Linked DNA regions of Homo sapiens: region 2 is linked to region 1. Evidence: promoter capture Hi-C in 16 types of primary human blood cells and fetal thymus (Javierre and others, 2016). All regions are on one chromosome and are shown on one strand. The core of a region is centred on a gene start or on the middle of the fragment in contact, and the rest is flanking DNA. Distances in the headings are between cores, read along the strand shown. Region 1 holds the start of PRDX2 (peroxiredoxin 2). Region 2 overlaps HOOK2 (hook microtubule tethering protein 2).

Region 1 (5,399 bases), core at 51-2,550:
TTTTATTTTTATTTATTTATTTATTTTTGTAGAGTAGGGGGTCTCTCCATGTTGCCCAGGCTGGTCTTGAATTCCTGGGCTCAAGCAGTCCTCCCGCCTCGGCCTCCCAAAGTGCTGGGCCATCAAGTCAGGCTAATTTTAAAATATTTTTTGTAGAGATGGAGTCTTGCTGTGTGGGCCAGGCTGGTCTGGTCTCCGAGACCAAGGGATCCTCCCACCTCAGCCTCCCAAAGTGCTAGGATTATAGGCGTGAGCTACCGCGCCGGCCACTGTGATCACTTTAAAGGGCTCTTTACTGAATCTGCCCCTTTCCCCTATGAGACAGATCTTATCCCAACTCCGATCTTATCCCAACTCACCGCTCACCAAGGTCTGACACCTCCTACCCTCCCACACCCATGTCTCTGCCACACCTCACCGACCTCTTTCCATTTCTCCTTCAGGACTTTTCACCTTGGCATTTGCTATTCCCTCTTCCTTGGACATTCTTTCCCCAAATCTTTCCATATGGGACTTTCGCTTGTCGTTCTCGCTGCACTGGTCACGGGTCTTCTGCAATCGGACCCTCTCTGATTTCCCAAGCTTGCCCGCCCCCTTCTTTCTCTGTCTCTGCCCTTCCTGGCACCTATCCCCGAGTGACAGCTTCAGTGTCCTGCCCACACCCTCTCTTCCCCTGGGAGCTGCTTTAAAGCAGTATCTATTTCAATATATCCAAGAGTAAACCGAGCCTTAGAGAAAAGTAACCAGCCCAAGGGGACGCCTCCAGTGCGGAGCTGGGTGGAGATTTGCAGCCCGCCGAGGAAGGTCCCTTTGCAGCCAGCAGGAGAAGTAGGGCAACGGGGAGCCTTTGGGCATCGTCATCCCCGCCGCCTGAGGTTACCCTTTAGATGCTGCAGCCTCAGCTGCTCCCAGCTGTCACCTTCGCCCTGCTGCCCTAAGTACTGATAGTCCTGGTAGACCAGGGCAGGGGTCGCCAGCTGCAGGAGTAGCAGAGGCGCCAGCAGCAGCGCCCCCGGGGTCCGCGCCATGCTGGACTCCAACGGCCCCCAACGCGCTCCCAGGCGGAGTCGTGCGCGGAGTCTGCGGCGGGCGCATTACCCACGCGGGCAGGTGCAGTGGTCCCGGCCGAAGGCAACGCGTCTCCCCCCGCCGCCCGCAGGCGCATGGACCCGGCCGCACGCTCCCCCGCACCTGCGGGCGCAGTGGACCCGACCGCTCCGCTCGTCCGCTCCCTCCCCCGCGCCGTGCACGTCTTGGTTCGGGCCGGGCATAAAAGGCTTCGCGGCCCAGGGCTCACTTGGCGCTGAGAACGCGGGTCCACGCGTGTGATCGTCCGTGCGTCTAGCCTTTGCCCACGCAGGTATGAACACCCGGAGTGCACCTGGCGGGAGGACCCCCTTCAGGCTGCTTTGGCCCGATCCTGACTTTAGTGCTGGCCGCCTTTGCTTTCCATCCGCTATAGTGGCCTCCTTTGTCCTTGCGGGGGAAACCGAGGCCACAGCCTTGCAGCGCAGGCCTGATCGCCCGACTTCCCGCCCCCTGCTCGTGCGGGCCTCACTGTCTCCTTCTGGGCTGGGGGCTTGCGACACCGCCCTCCGGCCGACTCGCTCGTGGGGTGCTGGTGGCAGTGGCTGGGTCACTCGTGCTCTGGTCAGGAGAGCGGGTCTCCGGCAGCCTCCGGGCCTCGTAGACCGGGTACCCGGGAGGGTGAGGGTTAGTGCTGTCGCCTCCGCCGTGCTGACTCAGTCATAGGGCCCAGCACGCAGCGCGACCTTGGGTTGGGAGGACAAAGTGTCTTCCCGGGCGCACTGACCGGGCGGGGGTCTCAGCTTTCAGTCATGGCCTCCGGTAACGCGCGCATCGGAAAGCCAGCCCCTGACTTCAAGGCCACAGCGGTGGTTGATGGCGCCTTCAAAGAGGTGAAGCTGTCGGACTACAAAGGTGAGCGCCGCCCGGAGGGGGCCCAGGTAGAAGCGGGGCCGTGCATGAGAGAAGCTGGGCCCTAACTCCTCTGTGTCCCTCCTCCCCAGGGAAGTACGTGGTCCTCTTTTTCTACCCTCTGGACTTCACTTTTGTGTGCCCCACCGAGATCATCGCGTTCAGCAACCGTGCAGAGGACTTCCGCAAGCTGGGCTGTGAAGTGCTGGGCGTCTCGGTGGACTCTCAGTTCACCCACCTGGCTTGGTATGAGCAGGGGCCAAAGAGGGAGGTTGCAGCTAAGCTCACACCCTCAGGTCCTAGCAGTGTGGCTTCGTGGCCATTGCTCAACCTCTGGAACCTGCGTTTCCCCATCGTGAAAATAATGGAAACATTGCCGCCCAAGTCTTTAAGGATGATGACAGTAATTAGCATTTGACAACTAGTTGCCTGGTATATAGAGTTGCAGATGCAACTCAGATGCAACTCTATCTACTCTATGTACTTAGTTCCCAGGAGGGAGGCTGTGCTGCCCTATTTCATGAAGATGGAAACTCCAGTTCACCGAAGTGAAGGGCTGTACCCCATGACACAGCTAGAGGAGGATGGGGACTCTTAACACAGGCTCTCTGCTGGGTGATGCTGCAAGTTACAAGTACATGTGAAGCCACTTAGCTGGAGCTGTGCCTCTCAAACTCAGTCTTCCCAGCCATGGGGATACAGTCCTTGCACCCAACCCAGGGTGGGGTGGGTGAGGCTCCCAGCGGCCTACTCTAAAGCCCCTTATCTCCGGCCTCCAGTGCTTATCACATTGGGCCCACAGGGTGAGGACCCTGCTGTGCCAGGCATCCTGAGGCCCCAACTCTGTCTCCCCTACTCCCAGGATCAACACCCCCCGGAAAGAGGGAGGCTTGGGCCCCCTGAACATCCCCCTGCTTGCTGACGTGACCAGACGCTTGTCTGAGGATTACGGCGTGCTGAAAACAGATGAGGGCATTGCCTACAGGTACTGTGGGACCCTCAGCCCGGCTCAGGGAGCGCCCTGCCCCCCATTCCTGTGATGCTGGGACCACTCCTGTACAATGTCTTCTCTGCCCCCAGCCCTGTGGCTAGCAGCGGGTGGTTGGTAGTCCCTTCCTTGTCTCTGGCAGTGGGAGCTATCAGCTCCTCACTGGGAACCCTGATGTCTTCAGGGGCCTCTTTATCATCGATGGCAAGGGTGTCCTTCGCCAGATCACTGTTAATGATTTGCCTGTGGGACGCTCCGTGGATGAGGCTCTGCGGCTGGTCCAGGCCTTCCAGTACACAGACGAGCATGGGGAAGGTGAGCAGATACACACATGACACATGGGTACATACTGAGCGCCTCCGTCACTCATGCAAACATTCACTGCCTGTCCTCTTACCTGTCCAGATGGGTGTTAGGGCCCCAAAGAAGATTCAGCTCAGGGCTTTGTCTGCAGGATGTTTCTAATGTGGTAGGAGACAAATAACGCCTGACATTCAACCAAGGTGGACAAAGGGGCCGGGCTCAGTGGCTCACGGTTGTATTGCCAGCACTTTGGGAAGCTGTGGCAGGTGGATCACCTGAGGTCAGGAGTTCGAGACCAGCCTGACCAACATGGTGAAACCCCGTCTCTACGAAGAACACAAAAAATTAGCTGGCCGTGGTGGTGCACACTTGTAATCCCAGCTACTTGAGAGACTGAGGCAGGAGTTCGCTTGAACCCAGGAGGCAGAGGTTGCAGTGAGCTGAGATCGCACCGTTGTACTCCAGCTTGGGCAACAGAGCAAAACTCAGTCTCAAAAAAAAAAAAAATTAGCTTGGTTTGTGAAGCATGCCTATAGTCCCAGCTACTCAAGAGGCTGAGGCTGGAGGATCACTTGAGCCTGGGAGGTCAAGGCTGCAGTAAGCTGTGATCGCACCACTGCACTCCAGCCTGGGTGACACAGCAAGACCCTGTCTCAAAAAAACAAACAAACAGGCCGAGCGCGGTGGCTCACGCCTGTAATCCCAGCACTTTGGGAGGCCGAGGCGGGCAGATCATGAGGTCAGGAGTTTGAGACCAGCCTGGCCAACATAGTGAAACCGCGTCTCTGCTAAAAATACAAAAAAATTAGCTGGGTGCGGTGGCAGGTGCCTGTAATCCCAGCTACTTGGGAGGCTGAGGCAGGAGACTCCCTTGAACCCGGGAGGAGGTTGCAGTAAGCCGAGATCACACCACTGCACTCCAGCCTGGGCGCCAGTGTGAGACTCCATCTCAAAAACAACAACAACAAAAAAACCTGTAGGGGTGGGGCAGAGGGACAAAGATGGGACTAAAGGAGCCAAAAAGACAGGAAGATGCTGTGTCTCATGCCTGTAGATGCTGTGTCTCATGCCTGTAGTTCCACCTACTCTGGAGAGTGAGGCAGAAGATTGCTTAGGCCCAGGAATTTGAGTCGAGCCTAGGCAACATAGCAATACCCCATCTCTTTTTTTTTTTTTTTAAGAGATGGGGTATTGGTTAAAAAAAAAAAAAAAAAAAAAGAGGCCAGATGCAGTGGCTCACACCTGTAATCCCAGCATTTTGGGAGGCCTAGGTGGGTGGATCACCTGAGGTCGGGAGTTCGAGACAAGCTTGACCGACATGGAGAAACCCAGTCTCTACTAAAAATACAAAATTAGCCCAGCCTGGTGGTGCATGCCTGTAATCCCAGCTACTTGGGAGGCTGAGGCAAGAGAATCGTTTGAAGCTGAGAGGCGGAGGTTGCAGTGAGCTGAGATCGTGCCATTGCACTCCAGCCTGGGCAACGAGTGAAGCGAAACTCCGTCTCAAAAAATAAAAAAAAAAAAGAGGCCGGGCACGGTGGCTCATGCCTGTAATCCCACCACTTTGGGAGGCTGAGGCGGGCGGATCAAGAGGTCAGGAGATCGAGACCATCCTAGCTAACGCGGTGAAACCCTGTCTCTACTAAAAATACAAAAAAATTAGTCGGGCGTGGTGGCGGGCGCCTGTAGTCCCAGCTACTCTGGCGGCTGAGGTAGGAGAATGGCGTGAACCTGGGAGGCGGAGCTTGCAGTGAGCAGAGATCGTGCCACTGCACTCCAGCCTGGGCAACAGAGCAAGACTCCATCTTAAAAAAAAAGAAAAGAAAAAAAGAAGAAAAAGGAGAGCTGGGTGGCAAAAAGAAATTGAAGAATTAAGAGTAGGAAAAACACCAGCTAGAAAATACTGAACTTGGCCAGGTGTAGTGGCTCACGCCTGTAATCCTAGCATTTTGGGAGGCCAAGGTGGGTGGATCACCTGAAGTCAGGAGTTCGAGATCAGCCTGACCAATATGGTGAAACCCTGTCTCTGCTAAAAGTACCAAAAAATTAGCAGGGTGTGGTGGCGGGCACTTGTAGTCCCAGCTACTCAGGAGGCTAAGGCAGGAGAATCACTTGAACGCGGGAGGCAGAGGTTGCAATGAGCCGAGATCACGCCATTGCACTCCAGCCT
Region 2 (5,446 bases), core at 2,361-4,860, 35 kb after region 1:
CGAGCGCACGCGACAACTGGAGGATGAGCTACGCCGAGCGGGCTCCCTGCGCGCCCAGCTGGAGGCGCAGCGGCGGCAGGTGCGGCGGGGGCGGGGTTAGGGCCGGGGCCCCGCCCCTGGCAGCAAGTCTCTCACCGTTGGCCAGCCCTCCGCCCACCCCTGATCCCCTCCCTTATTTGTACGTAGGCCACGCTCTCCGGGCCTCTTCCCTCCACCCACGCTGCTCTTCTGTCTGGGTTAGTAAGCCCAGCCTTTCCCTTCCCTTAAGTACCGCTCCTCTAAATTCTTTGATGCCCGCCGCTTCACCATGCTGCTTGATTTCCTTGGGGCTACCTAACCATGTAACAAAACTCGTGGTAAATTGAAAATATCCTAAAATGCATAAAGGCCAGGCCTGGTATCCCAGCGCTTTGGGAGGCTGAGCCGGGAGGATCACTTGAGCCCAGGATTTCGAGGTTGTAGTGAGCTGTGGCTGCATCACTGCATTCCAGCCTGGGTGACAGGGTGAGACCCTGACTCAAACAAAAGAAAAAGACCGGGTGCGGTGGCTCGCGCCTGTAATCCCAGCACTTTGGGAGGCCAAGGCGGGCACCCCATAACTCCTTCTGTAACCCCACATCACTTGAGGCCAGGAGTTTGAGACCATCCTGGCCAACATAGCAAAACCCTGTCTCTACTTAAAAATAGAAAAATTAGTCTGGGCGTGGTGGCTCACTCCTGTAATCCCAGCACTTTGGGAGGCCGAGGCGGGTGGATCCCGAGGTCAGGAGATCGAGACCATCCTGGCTAACACGGTGAAACCCCATCTCTACTAAAAATACAAAAAATTAGCCGGGCGTGGTGGTGGGCGCCTGTAGTCCCAGCTACTCGGGAGGCTGAGGCAGGAGAATGGTGTGAACCCGGGAGGCGGAGCTTGCAGTGAGCCGAGATCGTGCTACTGCACTCCAGGCTGGGCGACAGAGCAAGACTCCGTCTCGAAAAAAAAAAAAAAAAAAATTAGCCGGGCTGGTGGCGCGCGCCTGTAATCCCAGCTACCCAGAAAGCTGAAGCACGAGAATAGCTTGAACCTGGGAGGTGGAAGTTGCAGTAAGCCAAGATCGCATCACTGCACTCCAGCCTGGTTGAGAGAGGGAGACTGTCTCAAAAGAAAAAAGTAAAAGATATTAAAAAAAGAAAAAGAAAAAGAGAGCTGGGCGTGGTGACTCATGCCTATAATCCCAGCACTTTGAGAGGTTGAGATGGGAGATCGCTTGAGGCCAGCAGTTCGAGAACACCCTGGTCAAGATAGCGAGATTCCATCTGTTTTCAAAAAATAAAAATTTTTAAATTTTTTTTAAAAAAGAAAATCCATTGAACATACTTTACCTACTGAGCATCACAGCCTAGCCTAGCCTACCTTAAACATGCTCAGAAAACTTACCTTAGCCTAGTTTGGCAAAATCATCTACCATAAAGCCTATTTTATAATAAAGCGTTGACTATATAACGCAATTTATTGAAGACTAATTCATTGCAATTGAAAAACAGAATGGTTGTATGGGTTCCTACTATTAACATTCACAGTCGGCTGGGTGCAACGGCTCACACCTGTAATCCCAGTGCTTTGGGAGGCTGAAGTGGGAGGACTGCTTGAGGCCAGGAGTTTGAGATCAGCCAGGGCAACAGAGGGAGACCCTGTCTCTAAAAAAAACAAGCAAAAACATACACAGCTGAAAGCACCATAGTAAAGTCAAAAAAATAATAAGTCAAAGCATCCTGGATCGGGGACCATTTGTACTCAGCCCCTGCCCCTGCTCCCAGCCCTGCTGTCCTTATTCCTCCCCTCTCTGTGTTCAGGTGCAGGAACTGCAGGGCCAGCGGCAGGAGGAGGCCATGAAGGCCGAGAAATGGCTATTTGAATGCCGCAACCTGGAGGAAAAGTATGAGTCGGTGACAAAGGAGAAGGAGGTGAGGCTGAGGTTCCACTGCCCAAGCCCCACCCTGCCAATTCTGGGGTAGCCCATTTCCCAGGAGGCCGAGCCTGACCCGTGGAGTGTCTTGTACCCTGTCCCTGCAGCGGCTGTTGGCGGAGCGGGACTCCTTGCGGGAGGCCAATGAGGAGCTGCGCTGCGCCCAGCTGCAGCCGCGGGGGTTGACCCAGGCCGGTGAGATGAAGCCCCATCCCGGGGTCTTACCTGTCCTGGTGTACTGTTTGGGTAGAACAGGTTGTGTCCCAGTGCATGTCTAGGTTGGGGACAGAGCTAGGCCAGGCTGGAGGTGACCAGAAAGAGGTGACACGGTCAAATTGAAGAGAGAGGCTCAGGGTCTCAGGGTGGAGCAAAGGCTAAAAAGCTTGGCCAACCCTCCCGGTTCTCTATCAAGCCGGGGATGGAGCTTGTGTCAAGCCAGACTGTTGGCTGAACTTGAAGCCCCAAAAGATGATCCTTGGGAAGAAGACCCTAGGGGCGGGGACAGGGGATGCGAAGAGACCTGAAGACTTTTCTCGCATTCTTCAGATCCCTCACTGGATCCCACCTCCACACCCGTGGATAACTTAGCCGCAGAGATCCTGCCTGCGGAGCTCAGGTATCCTGGGGTCACTCAAAACTCTGGCCCCACCCAGGCTTGCCAAGGCCCGCCCTCAGCCCCGCTCCCGCCCTCCCATCTTCTGCTAGCCCCGGTTGCTTGGTCTCAGCTCCAGGTGCCAGCCGGGCTCCTAGGCCCACTTACTCCTGATTTGGCTCTGTCCAGCCCTACCAGATGACTTTGCCTCTCAAGGGTCTATCCTTAGTACACAAATTATGTCCAACACCTGGCTCCAGTTCCTGCACAAAAATCCTATGCCCTAGCCCCGCTGACTTTGATCCTTTCCCCCAGCGTCCACCCCTGTTAGTGTAACCTCTGTGAGTTTCAGTCCCCTGTGCCCTGCCGGGATTAACTCTCCCACCCCGGGCCAGGCACGGTGGATCATGCCTCTAAGTCCCAGCACTTTGGAAGGCCGAAGCTGGAGGATCACTTGAGCCCAGGAGTTTGAGAGCAGCTTGGGCAACATAGTGGCCCTCTCTACAAAATAAAAATGATTTAAAAACCCGAAAAACGACCGGGCGCGGTGGCTCACGCCTGTAATCCCAGCACTTCGGGAGGCCAAGGCGAGCGGATCACAAGGTCAGGAGATCGAGACCATCCTGGCTAACACGGTGAAACCCCGTCTCTACTAAAAATACAAAAAATTAGCCGGGTGTGGTGGCACGCACCTGTAGTCCCAGCTACTCGGGAGGTTGGGGCAGGAGAATCGCTTGAACCTGGGAGGCAGAGGTTGCAGTGAGCCGAGATCGCGCCACTGTATTCCAGCCTGGGCGACAGAGCGAGACTCCATCTCAAACAAACAAAAAGCCAAAACTAACCAAACAAACAAACAAAAAAACCCCGAAAAACTGTCCCATCCTAGTTCTTCCCATTTCTGCTTCCCGCTTTCCAGCAGTCCCATCCCAGCTGTTCGAATCCACTCTTGTAGCTCCGCCCCTGCCTAGCCCCACCCACTATCCCAGCTTAGAGCTCCGTCCACTTTAACCCTGGGCCGGGAACCTGAACCCGTAGTAGGTCCTCGGTGCTCCAACCCCATGGTCTGGCTGGGCTCTTCCCCAGGGCTCTGTCCCGCCCCTAGCTCCACTCTCCCTGAGCCCCAGCGAGCCTGCGAGGTGACTCGACCCTGGCCCTGCTCTCTCCTCCCGGGTCTGCAGGGAGACGCTCCTGCGGCTTCAGCTGGAGAACAAGCGGCTGTGCAGGCAGGAGGCGGCCGACCGGGAGCGGCAGGAGGAGCTGCAGCGCCACCTGGAGGATGCCAACCGCGCGCGCCACGGGTTGGAGACGCAGCACCGGTGAGCGCCTGGGGACCTACCTGCGCGGAGCAGGGACAGAGGGGGCCAAAAGTGGGCACAGGCACTAAGCGGCCCCCCACCCTCGCAGGCTGAACCAGCAGCAGCTATCCGAGCTGCGGGCCCAGGTGGAGGACCTGCAGAAAGCCCTGCAGGAGCAGGGGGGCAAGACTGAAGATGTGAGTGTCACCCACCACCTCCCAGCCTGGCCCTCCCTTGTGCCCCGAAGTAACCCTCCTCTCTCTCCCATGCTGCCCGATGCCCCATACAGGCCATTGTAAGTACCATGGGCCCAGGATGGCACCCCCTACCCTCACCCTGGGAAGGAAGAATTAGGGCCTCTCTGGATCCCCCACTCACCTTGCCTCTTCTCTCTCCCAGTCCATTTTGCTGAAAAGGAAGCTGGAGGAACATTTGTAAGTCGCAGAAAGAGGGAACTCCTCGTGGGGGCATGGATTTGATATTAGTGGGGAGTTTCTTAGGCATGTGCCACCATGCCTGGCTGATTTTTTATATTTTTAGTAGAGACGGGGTTTCACTATGTTGGCCAGGCTGGTCTCGGACTCCTGACCCCAGATGATCCACCCGCTTTGGCCTCCCAAAGTGCTGGGATTACAGGCATGAGCCACCGCGCCTGGCCTGCTTTCTTTTCTTTTACCTGTCTGCTATTGAAGAGATTTGTATTCTAGAAAGATCCCTGGCTGCTGGATGGAGTGCTTGAGAGTAGAAGAAGCTAGCAAGGGAAGATGGTGGCTGAACCAGCTTGGGAGCTGTGGGATGGGAAGAAGTGGACAGCAGGGGCTGTTCCGGGGCATACCTGCTAAGGGTGCGGAGGGTTGTGGCTCTGACAGCTGTGGAGCCGGTGGGACCAGGGCACACAGCCCCAGGCATGAGGGGCAGGCAGAGAGGGCTCTGTGGCCATGTAGGGGCATTTCTGGCTGGCGGGGAGGTCTGTGGCTACCACTGGGACAAAAGAGAAGCCAGCCCGGAGGTCAGCCCACTGCTGCTCATCCCCGGCCCACAGGCAGAAGCTTCATGAGGCAGATCTGGAGTTGCAGAGGAAGCGGGAGTACATTGAGGAGCTGGAGCCACCCACTGACAGCAGCAGTAAGTAGGACCTAGTGACCAGAGGGTGGGGAGATCCCAGAGCCCAGCAGCGTGGAGCTGATGGGCCACCTCTTCCGCCAGCAGCCCGGCGGATCGAGGAGCTGCAGCATAACTTGCAGAAGAAGGACGCGGACTTGCGGGCCATGGAGGAGCGATACCGCCGCTACGTGGACAAGGCCCGCATGGTGAGGACGCTGGGTGTTCCCACAAGTTGCCTGCCCTGGCTTCTTACTTTTTGTGCCTCCTATTGAGTCAAACCTCCTGCTTGCACATCTGTGCCCCCAACTCATACCTGTCATACCCCACCATAAGACAGACTTCTGCATGATTCCCCACTGCTACTGATTGTCACATTAAAATACTGCACAGCTGGCTGGGTGCCGTGGCTCATGGCTGTAATCCCAGCACTTTGGGAGGTCAAGGCAGGCGGAACATGAGGTCAGGAGTTTGAGACCAGCCTGGCCAACATGGTGAAACCCCATCTC

The links. The method cuts DNA at HindIII sites, captures the fragments that hold promoters and counts their contacts. A CHiCAGO score of 5 or more calls a contact.
Region 2: a fragment that was not itself captured here is called in contact with the fragment with the promoter of PRDX2 in region 1 in 2 of 17 cell types (monocytes and neutrophils); the score reaches 6.1 in monocytes.

Annotation. Positions count from the first base shown.
Region 1 is chr19:12,797,701-12,803,099 of GRCh38, reverse strand. PRDX2 (peroxiredoxin 2) reads left to right here and starts at 1,300. Exons shown (of 6, transcript NM_005809.6): 1 at 1,300-1,360; 2 at 1,830-1,941; 3 at 2,031-2,184; 4 at 2,801-2,923; 5 at 3,111-3,241. The coding sequence starts at 1,839. It overlaps THSD8 (thrombospondin type 1 domain containing 8), which reads right to left and starts at 1,031. Exons shown (of 2, transcript NM_001386800.1): 1 at 881-1,031. The coding sequence starts at 1,028. RefSeq lists silencers at 953-1,342, 1,352-1,537, a cis regulatory region at 940-1,489 and enhancers at 1,137-1,695, 2,023-2,222. The HindIII fragment of the contact is 3,955 bases long and covers 585-4,539 here.
Region 2 is chr19:12,764,514-12,769,959 of GRCh38, reverse strand. It overlaps HOOK2 (hook microtubule tethering protein 2), which reads left to right. Exons shown (of 23, transcript NM_013312.3): 11 at 1-79; 12 at 1,837-1,947; 13 at 2,057-2,144; 14 at 2,496-2,565; 15 at 3,720-3,857; 16 at 3,946-4,033; 17 at 4,126-4,131; 18 at 4,236-4,270; 19 at 4,879-4,961; 20 at 5,043-5,146. Among named protein-coding and RNA genes, the nearest start is that of HOOK2, 8.3 kb to the left of the region's middle. RefSeq lists a silencer at 1-206 and an enhancer at 3,886-4,431. The HindIII fragment of the contact is 2,554 bases long and covers 2,334-4,887 here.